2 separate regions of the Homo sapiens genome follow, and region 2 is linked to region 1. The links are contacts of gene promoters, found by promoter capture Hi-C in blood cells and fetal thymus (Javierre and others, 2016). All regions are on one chromosome and are shown on one strand. Each heading gives the region's core, a stretch centred on a gene start or on the middle of the fragment in contact. The rest is flanking DNA. Distances are from core to core; before and after follow the strand shown. Region 1 holds the start of PPP2R3B (protein phosphatase 2 regulatory subunit B''beta). Region 2 holds the start of LINC00102 (long intergenic non-protein coding RNA 102).

Evidence for each region. The method cuts DNA at HindIII sites, captures the fragments that hold promoters and counts their contacts. A CHiCAGO score of 5 or more calls a contact.
Region 2: a contact is called between a fragment that was not itself captured here and the fragment with the promoter of PPP2R3B in region 1, in 1 of 17 cell types (total CD4 T cells). The highest score is 5.2, in total CD4 T cells.

Annotation. Positions count from the first base shown.
Region 1 is chrX:384,477-389,962 of GRCh38, reverse strand. It overlaps PPP2R3B (protein phosphatase 2 regulatory subunit B''beta), which reads left to right and starts at 3,056. Exons shown (of 13, transcript NM_013239.5): 1 at 3,056-3,595. The coding sequence starts at 3,272. The HindIII fragment of the contact is 20,425 bases long and covers 1-5,486 here.
Region 2 is chrX:2,612,577-2,618,062 of GRCh38, reverse strand. It overlaps LINC00102 (long intergenic non-protein coding RNA 102), which reads left to right and starts at 2,716. Exons shown (of 2, transcript NR_037842.1): 1 at 2,716-3,346; 2 at 4,367-5,072. It also overlaps the pseudogene CD99P1. The HindIII fragment of the contact is 2,699 bases long and covers 1,101-3,799 here.

The DNA of each region.
Region 1 (5,486 bases), core at 1,807-4,306:
TAGCTGGGACCACAGGCACACGCCAGGATGCTCAGCTAATTTTTAAATATTCTCTAGAGATGGGGCTCGCCATGTTGCCAAGGCTGGTCTTGACCTCCTGGGCTTAAACAATCCTCCTGCCTCGGCCTCCCAAAGTGCTGGGATGACAGGTGTGAGCCACCATGCCTGGCTAATTTTTGTATTTTTGTAGAGACGGGGTTTCACCATGTTGGCCAGGCTGGTCTCGAACTCCTGACCTCAGGTGATCCACCACCTCGGCCTCCCAAAGTGCTGGGATGACAGGTGTGAGCCACCGTGCCTGGCTAATTTTTGTATTTTTGTAGAGACGGGGGTTTCACCATGTTGGCCAGGCTGGTCTTGAACCCCTGACCTCAGGTGATCCACCGTCTCGGCCTCCCAAAGTGCTGGGATGACAGGCATGAGCCACTGCAATCTCCCGGCCTGCCCTCACCTTTCTCTCCCCAGGACAATTCTGGTGGCCACCCACCACCCCTGCAAGACGGACAGACCCGAATGGGCAGGGCGTCCATCCGGCTGTGGAGCAGCTTGGATAATTGCAGCTGGCCACATCCCAGCAAACTCTGCAACACCTCAGGCCCTGCCAGCCTTGGGGGCCCGACAGCACCTCTTTGTTCTCCCAGAGCAAAGCCTGCACGGAGTGGGCCCCCGGGCCCCAGCGCAGACTGAAGGCGCATTCTGTTTCTGCCCTGAGTTGATTTCTGTCCTGTTGGCCCTGGGCCTCACTACACTGTGCCCCAGTAACCTGGCAGAGAAAGGCCTCTTGTGCAGGCATTCAAAGGAAACCCTTTCCCCTCAAAACTGCAGTGATGCTTCCAACAGTGACTCGCAGCTCATCGAAACACCCAGAATGAAAAGCACGTTTGTTCCTTGAAAAGACGTCTGTGTCCGATACATACTCAAACAGAGAACTGTATTAATATATTCACTTCCCTCCAGAAATCACAGCATCGCACACACACACAAACGGTTGCTTCCCAATTAGGAAAAATAACTTCACAGAATTCCTGCGTGATGGCGCTCTTCTGACCAAGTACACTCGGATTTTTATATCCAATCACGAAACACAAACTGAAATTCAAATCATTATGTACACAACACAAAACTATCGTTTATGAGTGATTTAAATCGGGTGCGGTGGCTCACGCCTGTAATCCCAACGCTTTGGGAGGCAGAGACAGAGGCAAAGGCAGGAAGATTGCTTGAGGCCAGGAGTGTGAGACCAGCAACACCTCGTCTCTATAAACAATAAAATTAAAAATGAGCCAGGCATGGTGGCGCATGCCTGTTGTCCCAGCTGCTTGGAAGGCTGAGGTGGGAGGATCGCTTGAGCCAGGAGATCAAGGCTGCACTCAGCTAAGATCGCAGCCTGGGTGACGGAGCAAAACCCTGTCTCATACGAACAAAAAGAGTTATTTAGGCCGGGCGTGGTAGCTCACGCCTGTAATCCCAGCACTTTGGGAGGCCGAGGCGGGTGGATCACTTGAGGTCAGGAGTTCGAGACCATCCTGGCTAATACGGTGAAACCCTGTCTCTACCAAAAATACAAAAATTAGCCAGGCGTGGTGGCGGGCGCCTGTAATCCCAGCTACTCGGGAGGCTGAGGCAGGAGGATCCCTTGAACCCGGGAGGCGGAGGTTACAGTGAGCTGAGATCTTGCCATCGCACTCCAGCCTGGGCGACAGAGCGAGACTCCAACTCAAAAAAAAAATAAAACTAAAAAAAGAGTTATTTTTTTTTTTTTTGAGACAAAGTCTGGCTCTGTCGCCCAGGCTGGAGTGCAATGGTGTGATCTCAGCTCACTGCAACCTCCACCTCCTGGGTTCAAGCAATTCTCCCGCCACAGCCTCCCGAGTAGCTGGGACTACAGGCACACGCTACTATGCCCGGCTAATTTTTCTATTTTTAGTAGAGATGGTGGGGGCGGTTTCACTATGCTGGCCAGGCTGGTCTCGAACTCCTGACTTCGTGATCTGCCCGCTTCAGCCTCCCAAAGTGCCGGGATTACAGACTTGAGCCACCGCGCCCGGCCAAGGGTTACTTATTGAGTCTGGCTCGATTTATGCAGCTCAGAAGTAGGAGAACCTGGCTCATAAAAGACCTTGAAATTACTCTCTAACAGGGTGCAACACCAGGTGAAACCCTATTTTGATAAAAAATGAATAAAAAGCGGGGCAAGATGTAAAGGAAACAGGTGCATGTGTGCCAGACAGATGATAATGCAGTGTTTTTATGGATACTGTTAAAAGCAGAAACAAAAACGACCATTGGGTAAAGTTATTTAACTAATGTCACCTCCCTGGACGTGGATGATTTTTGCAATTTTCAACGCACTTCACGCTCATCCCTGAACACCAACGTTTAAAGGGGTCCAACTCCTCCAACCTGTCTCTACTGTTTGATAAGCAAAGCTAAAGTAAACGGGGCCCTTTGGGTCCCAGGTAGCCCGCTGTTATTGAAAAGTTTGATCTTTTCCTCGCGCGCTCCCGTAGGACGCACGCTCGCTCCCGAGCTCGGCGGGCGCGCACCCCGCATGCTCGCTCGTTCCCGGTGCCTCCCACTGCGCAGGCGCACTCCCGTCCTCCAGCCCCACCCGCTCACACACCTCCCAGCCTCTGGCTTGCGCCCCGCGGGCAGCCATTGCGCACGCTCACCCGACCGGCCTCCCGAACTCCGCTCCTCCACCGCTATGCACGGCGCATGCTCCATGCGGAGGTTCCACCCTCTCCTCGCTCTGGCAGGCACGCATTGCGCATGCTCGCATTTCCGCAGCTCTAGGACTGCCACGCCGCCATGGGCCGCGCCTCTAAAAATCCTAAACGCAGAAAGAGCTCGGGCGGTACGGCCGCCACAGCCCCTCCCTCGTCCTCACCGCAGCCGCTCGGCCCCACCAAAGCCTCCTGCAAAAGCTCCGAGGGCCGCGGGGCGCGCGTGGCTAGCGGCGGCGTCGCCTCGTGATGACATCGTCGCGATGACGCGACGCAGTGACGTGAACGCGGGCGCCCTTGTTTGGGAGCGCGGCCGGCGCGCCCGTTTTGAAGCTGCCCTGAGCAGCGCGGGCCGGACCGCGCCCCCTCCTCGGTCCCCGCGCCCCGCGAGTCCGCGCAGTTCCCGAGGCGCGGGCCCTGTTCCCTGCGCCGCGCCCCCTCAGCGGGCCGTGCTCGCATCACCGAGGTCGGTCCGGGGCGGACCGAAGCCCCCGGGGCGGGGCGGGGCGCGGGCGTCCGGGGGCGCCGCGGGCCCAGCCCCCGCCATGCCGCCCGGCAAAGTGCTGCAGCCGGTCCTGAAGATGAAGGTGGACGAGCTGTTCCTGTACTGGCTCAGCGAGGCCAGCACGCAGCGGATGCTGCAGGACTGCCTGCGCCGGATCAAGGCGCCCGGGCGGGACCAGCCGACCCCGGGGGACGGGGAGCAGCCCGGGGCCTGGCCCACAGCCCCGCTCGCCGCCCCCCGGCCCAGCGGGCTCGAACCCCCGGGAACCCCCGGGCCGGGCCCTGCGCTGCCCCTGGGCGCCGCCTCCAGCCCCAGGAACGCGCCCCACGTTCGAGGCACCCGTAGATCCGCAGGGACGAGAGTAGTAAGTTACTCTTCCTTCTGCTAACAACTGCGCAGGTGGCTCTGGTCGCATAGTGGGCGTGTGGCTGCGCGATGGAGGCTGGTGGGCGAGCGTCAGACCCCAAAACGGTTTCATATTGAGTCTGTTCCCCGCCCCGACCCCCCCCACCACACACATACAGACAAGAAAGTCCCACGTACTGAACATTCCGTCATTGACAGTTGTTAACCTAAAAATCACACAATTTATAAAGGTAGAAAGGCTTCCTATTTTATTTTATTTTATTATTTTAATTTGTTTTAATTTTGAGACAGAGTTTTGCTCTGTTGCCCAGGCTGGAGTACGATGGCGCGATCTTGGCTCACTGCAACCTCTGCCTCCCAGGTTCAAGCGATTCTCCTGCCTCAGGCTCCCGAGGAGCTGGGACTTACAGGCACGTGCCACCACGCCTGGCTGATGTTGTATTTTTAGTAGAGACTGGGTTTCCCCCATGTGGGCCAGGCTGGTCTCGAACTCCTGACCTCAAGTGATCCTCCCGCCTTGGCCTCCCAAAGTGCTGGGATTTCAGACGTGAGTCACTGCGCCTGGTCCGTTTTTTATTTATTTTACAATTCTTTGGAGACAGGGTCTTGCTCTGTCTCCTAGGCTGGAGTGCAGTGGCGCAAACACAGTTGGACTTCCTGCCTCAGCCTCCCCAGTAGCTGGGATTACAGGCGTGCACCATCACGCCAGGCTAATTTTTGTTTATTTATTTATTTATTTATTTTTGCAGAGACGAGGTCTTGCTATGTTACCTAGAGTGCTCTGGAATTCCTGGGTCCAAGCAATCCTCCCGCTTCGGCCTCCCAAAATCCCACTGTATTTCTTAGAAGAAACGCCATTTATTTCATAGAAGGTGATTATACACCGCAGGTGAGAAGCGCAGCCTCTGGCTAATGTACCTGTAATCTCAGCTACCCGGGAGGCTGAGGCAGGAGAATCACTGGAACCCAGGAGGCAGAGGCTGCACTCCAGCCTGGGCACCAGAGCAAGACTCCATCTCAAAAAAAAAAAAAAAAAAAAAAAAAAGAAAACTAAAAACAAGCACTTGGAGGGAAGAAAAGATGAGACGGGAATTTATGCTGAGTGGGTTGGCCAAGTGTATATATTCAAGAAGTTATAGGAAGAGCTATGGATATTCACCAAGGGTGTCCTGACGCATGGGTATTGAACAAACATGCATGTTACCTACTCCCGAGTTCACCTTGGAGCGGAGACTTAACATTTAAATGCATTATGGTTAGGCCCCCTAGGTCAAAAGGTGAAGCAACTCTGCAGCCTCTGTCAACCGGCCAGAACCAGTCCGTGGTGAGTAGTTACCAGGATAAAGTGATTGCAATCAGTTTTTTTTTTTTTTTTTTTTTTTTGAGACAGATTCTCACTCTCACCCAGGCTGAGATGCAATGGTGCAATCTCAGCTCACTGCAACCTCCGCCTCCCGGGTTCAAGCGATTCTCCTCCCTCAGCCTCCCGAGTAGCTGTGATTACAGGCGCACACCACCACCCCCGGCTAATTTTTGTATTTTTAGTAGAGGCAGGCTTTCACCTTGTTGGCTAGACTGGTCTCAAACTCCTGACCTCAGGTGATCCACCCGCCTCAGCCTCTCAAAGTGCTGGGATGACAGGCGTGAGCCACCACACCTGGCCTGGAATCAGTCTTTTCCCAGTCAAAGCTGTAGTTACGGCTGGTGGAACAGAGGGGTCTGTTCATCAGGATCTGACAGGAAGCTGCAGGTGTTTTAATATTGTTTATATTGGTCAGGCATGGTGACTCACGCCTGTGATTCCAGCATTTGGGAGTTGGAGGCAGGCAGATCACTTGAGTTCAGGAGTTCGAGACCAGCCTGGGCAACATGGCGAAACCCCATCTCTG
Region 2 (5,486 bases), core at 1,201-3,700, 2.2 Mb before region 1:
TCAGCCTCCCAAGCAGGTGGGACAGCAGGTATGTGCCAACAAGCCTGGCTAATTTTTCATTTCATTGTAGAGAGGGGGTTTTGCTATGTTGCCCAGGCTGGTCTTGAACTCCTGGGCTCAAAAGATGCTCCCATCTCAGCCTCCCAAAGTGCTGGGATTATATGTGTGAACCTCTATTCCTGGCCATCATCAACTTTTTATATGGGGAAGGGAGAAAAAAGAGGCTTAAATGAAGGAAACTTTGAATCCAACACTTTTCAAAACCATGTAACAGTACATTAGTAATCACTAAAAAACCAATGACTTTTCAAATATATTGTGTATAAAGAAATAAGAAGTCTCACAGTATGAGAACCTATACTATTGTATGTTTAGAAAAAAAAGTATACTAGAATAGAGAGATCTTCTTGGAATGAGTATCTGGTTTTGTAAAGACAATTTATTTTATTTACAGGTGAACCTCTTTAGGTTTTTACCTTGAAATCAGGAATAAAAAATGTCTACTCTCTTCACTCATACTTAAAGCCATCATGTGTTCTCTAGCAAAGCCAATTCAACAAAAATACGAATGCACTCTGAAGACACTCTGAAGACAACGAAAAAACATAGAAAAGGAGACAAATTTTAAAATCACTTACAAATAATATGTCGGTCTTCTCAGAAACATTAAGAAATGAAGAGAAAACAATTGGAAGTTCACAAGGGTTCATCATTCAGTGGAGAGTAAGAGAGAATGCACAAAAATGTTGCTATAGTTCAGAAACAGAGAGACAAATAGCGCACATAAAATCGTACTCACCAAAACAAATCAATACTGACGGGAAAACACCTTAGAAATCCATTTAAATAAATCACCAGGAGAAAAAGGCACACAGAAGAATCTGCTCGATTTTACAAATATTTTAGCACTCTATAAATCAATTCATAGTTGTAAGTAATGCAAATGAAAAGAAAAAGATGGTTTTCTTTTTCCCAAGAAGGAAGAGAGACAGTGATAAAATGGTTCTGTTAAAAGGAAAAATGTGTTACACAAAGGTGGAAACTCACACAAACCTAAGACAACATAAAAAAGAAAAATTCAAGCCTTGCTTATAAAAGCTTCTGTTCAAAATGTTTTCAGAGGCAACAATAAAGTGGAAACACATTTTCATAATATATTGGGCAATGTTTACTGTCTATAAATAATTCAAAAATGACTAGAAATCAGGGAGGACATACCAGAATAGAAGAATAAAAGACACAGTATCCCATACACAGAAGAAGAAGTCTCCATGGCCCACTGATGCATTGTTTTTGTTTCAAGTTTCAGAATTAAAGACGTGAAACTAAGACAAGGTTAGCATGACATTTTGCACTACTGGATAAAGATGTTTTGGTGAACACCAATATCGGAGACGGTGTGAGGAAAGGGTCATCTGCACACCCCGCCGCCATCAAAATAAATTGGTGCAATTCTGGGGCAATTTCAAAACCATGTCAGAAGCTACAAAAGTACTCACACACATCGATGTAAACAACTTGCACTCTAGAAATATATCTTCAAACATAAAGGAAAGTGCATGAAGGGCAGTCAAATTTGCTTTGTAATTGATAATTCCAAAACATCAGAAGAAACATAACTTCAGAATTAGGGATTACTTAAAGAAACCAAAGTATGTAATTAAGTCTGTAGTATAATAATGTAAAGTCGTATGATACAAACGATTAAATGACATGAGAAAATGGTCAAGGAATATTCTTATGCCAATAATAACATAACCAGCAAAAAACCATAAAAATGTCAACAGGATTTAGACCATCTGGATAGATTTCTGTGTTAAAAATTAAACAAACATGTAAAGAAAAACACTCAGTAAAAATCTAATTGTTTAAAACAAGTTGGCTTCTCCATGGGAAACACACAGATTCTTTTCCTCATATCAAGTCTACATCTAAAAGCTCTTATTCAATGATTTGGAAGTTCCATTTATCTTTGAAGTAAAATCAAGAAAAGGAAAATAAAATCCAAACCAAAAACATATTTTCGTAATCTAGGTTTTCCACTACTTGAACACTGGAATTACCTTGTAATTCAACAGTAGGAACAGGCTCACCTGAAATCTCCTCTTCTCAGATGACACGGACATCACTGCCAGGTAAACAACATAGAGACCACCCCGTAGGGTTAGAGGCTCTTATCAGTGAAACCAGGTCAGTTGGGATTTGGATCTGGCTTTGGTTTGGGGGGATTAGGTGGTGCTGGGTCACCTGTTTGTAAAACATGAGAGTTGGCGATCATCAGTGCCTTGCAGTCAAGAAAATGAAAAATCAATTTCCATGGCGACCAGAAAAGGAAATGAAAAATCAATTTGCATAGAGACCTTTCACTAAACAGGTAAAAAATGACCCTTGTTTTTGTCGTGGTGGGGATGCCCATACACATAGCCTCCTGCCAATTCCCTTCCATCATCTTCCAGCTACAGGATTTAACTTCAAGTATTTTCAAAGAAAACTAAGCCAGGTGTCCAGACCACCTCCAGAATTTGAGAGGCCCTGCACAAAATGAAAATGCAAGATTCTGTTCCAATTTTATGACGAATTTCAAGATGGCAGCTACTGAGTAATACACCAATATGGTGCCCTTGTATGCACAGGTCCCTGTGTGACATCACATGTCACATGCCCATGAAGTCTGACCTGGCCAGGGAAGTGACATTTGCCTTATATCATTCCAAAGTCTGTAACAATTTTAAAATAAAAGCCAGCATATTGGTGGGAAAAAAAACAAAAATCCAACAACAACAAAAATAAAACACAACAAGGCATATACTTCCAATATTTCCACTGTATAAACCCAATCCATGGATTATGCAAAAGAGATAAGTCTCTTGGAAATGACAGTCATTTGGTGACAATAACAAATCAGCAACAGAGGAGACTTTAACGAGTTACTCACTGTTTCCTCCCTCACCAAAGGCATCTGCTAAGTCAAAGTCTGCCCCTAAAGGAAGGAATCGGTCTGTTCATAGTAAAGCTCTGAGAAATGAGGAAGGAATGACCTCGGAAACAGATGGAGAAATCACCAGAGACCCACATGACTAAAGACTTTTCTGAATATCACACTGACTAGGATCTCATTTGAAAAAGTAAATTCCTGATCATTTTCACATCATTCTTCCCCCAGATGAAAAGAGTAAGAGATGACAGCAAGAGAAAGAGGGAGAGAGAAAGAATGTCATTTGTAAATCAACTGTGCTGCCTGGACCCAGTTGGGACTCTGAATCTGCCTGCACACAACTCTGTCCCGTTGATTCCCCATTATCTCCTCCCAGGTCCCCAACACCTTCAGCAAGGCAGACCGTAAGAGGTAGGGCAGGTGACTGTGATCTGATCTGTGACTGACGGATTCTGATCTGTGTCTGAAAAGTGGCTCTACCCACCCAGCTGGGCTCCACAAACTAATGTGACATTCATGCTAGTTTCAAAGCCAGCCTTCTAGTTCTTTTTTTTTTTTTTTTTCATATGGAGTTTTGTCCTTTTGCCTGGCTGGAGTGCAGTGGTGTGATCTCGGCTCACTGCAACCTCTGCCTCCCGGGTTCAAGCCATTCTCCTGCCTCAGCCTCCCGAGTAGCTGGGATTACAGGCATGCACCACCATGCCAGGATAATTTTTGTATTTTTAGCAGAGGCAGGGTTTCTCCATGTTGGTCAGGCTGGTCTTGAACTCCTGACCTCAAGTGATCCAGCCGCCTTGGCCTCCTAAGGTGCTGGGATTACAGGTGTGAGCCACCTTACCTGGCCCAGCCTTCTAGTTCCAAGCTTTTCAAATCCCAATTAAGGTCGAGGCACATTTTATATTGGGAGTGATAAGGGAGGCTCAAATGAAAGAAACATGAGGGGCTACATCAAAATGAATCTTTTTTTCAAAACCATATTAAAATACACAAGCAATGAATAAAAAGCACATGATTTTTCACATACATTGTATAGAAATAAGAAATCTCATGGTATGAGAACCTATGTGTTCAGAAAAAAAGTATACTAGAAGAGAAAGACACTTATTGAAATGACTTATTTTATTTAAAGGTGAATCTCTTTGGGTTTTTGTCCTAATGTCTGGAAAAAAAGTTGTCTACCATATTTACAACTCTACATATTAAAAGTTGTCCTGAGTCTTCTAGCAAAGGCCATAGAACTAAATTACAAATAAACTGTAAAGAGAACGTATAAATCTAGGAACAGGGAAAATTTTAAAAACCCATTACCAAATAACATGACCAACTTCTTAGAAAAGGTCAGAAATGAAGAGAAAAAAAATTGAAATTTAACAAAGGGTCATCATTTCATGGATTGCAAAAAATATATACACAATCTCTTCTACATGACAGAAATAAACAGAAAAATAGTGGACATGAAAATGGATTCAGAGTAACAAAAACAAGGAAAAAACACTTTAGAAACCCATTGACAGAATCAACAAGAGGAAGAGACAAATCGAATCTCAAAGAAAAAGCTCAGGCCGGCATGGTGGCTCACACCTGTAATCCCAGCACTTTGAGAGGCTGAGATGGGCGGATCACCTGAGGTCAGGGGTTCAAGATCAGCCTGGCTAACATGGCAAAACCCCGTCTCTACTGAAAATACAAGAATTTGCCGGGCATGGTGGTGCATGTTTGTAATCCTAGCTAATTGGGAGGCTGAGGCACGAGAATTGCTTGAACCCAGGAAGTGGAGGTTGCACTGAGCCAAGATCACGCCACTGCACTCCAGCCCGGGCGACAGAGAGAGACTCTGTCTCCAAAATAAAAAAAGGAAAGAAAATAAAAGAAAAAACTCAACATTGAAAACGTGTTACCATTCCTTCAATCAACCTATGGTGATAAACAATTCAAATGAAATTAAAAAGAAGGTTTTACTTCTCTGAAGAGAAGGGACAATAGCAAAATGATTCTCAATTTAAAAGGAAAAAAAGTTACAAAAAGCAGGATATCCACACAAACATAAGACACCATAAAAAAATAAACATACCACTTGTAAAACATTCCTGTTAAAAATATTCAAAGGCAAAAATAAAGTGCAAAACCATTTTCATAATAAGTGGCTGGTAATCTTTAATATTGATAAATCACTGAAGAAGGCTCATACATCAGTAGGTAGGGAGGCTGAGGCAGGCAGAACATCTGAGGTCAGGAGTTCCAGACCAGCCTGGCCAACATGGTGAAACCCCATCTCTACTAACAATACAAAAATGAGCTGGGCCTGGTGGCGGGCACCATGAATTGAAGGATCAAAGCCAAAGCATCCAATACACAAAAGAAGAAGTCTCCGTGGCCCATTGGGATGCATTATGCTTTTTACATTTCAGAATGAGAGATGTAAAACTAAGACCGGTTTGATATAATAATTACACTATTTGACAAAGGTTTTGTAGGTGATAATTGCTACTGGAAAAGGTTCGAAGACAGGGACATTTGCAGACACCCTGGTATCAAATCAAATTGGTGCAAT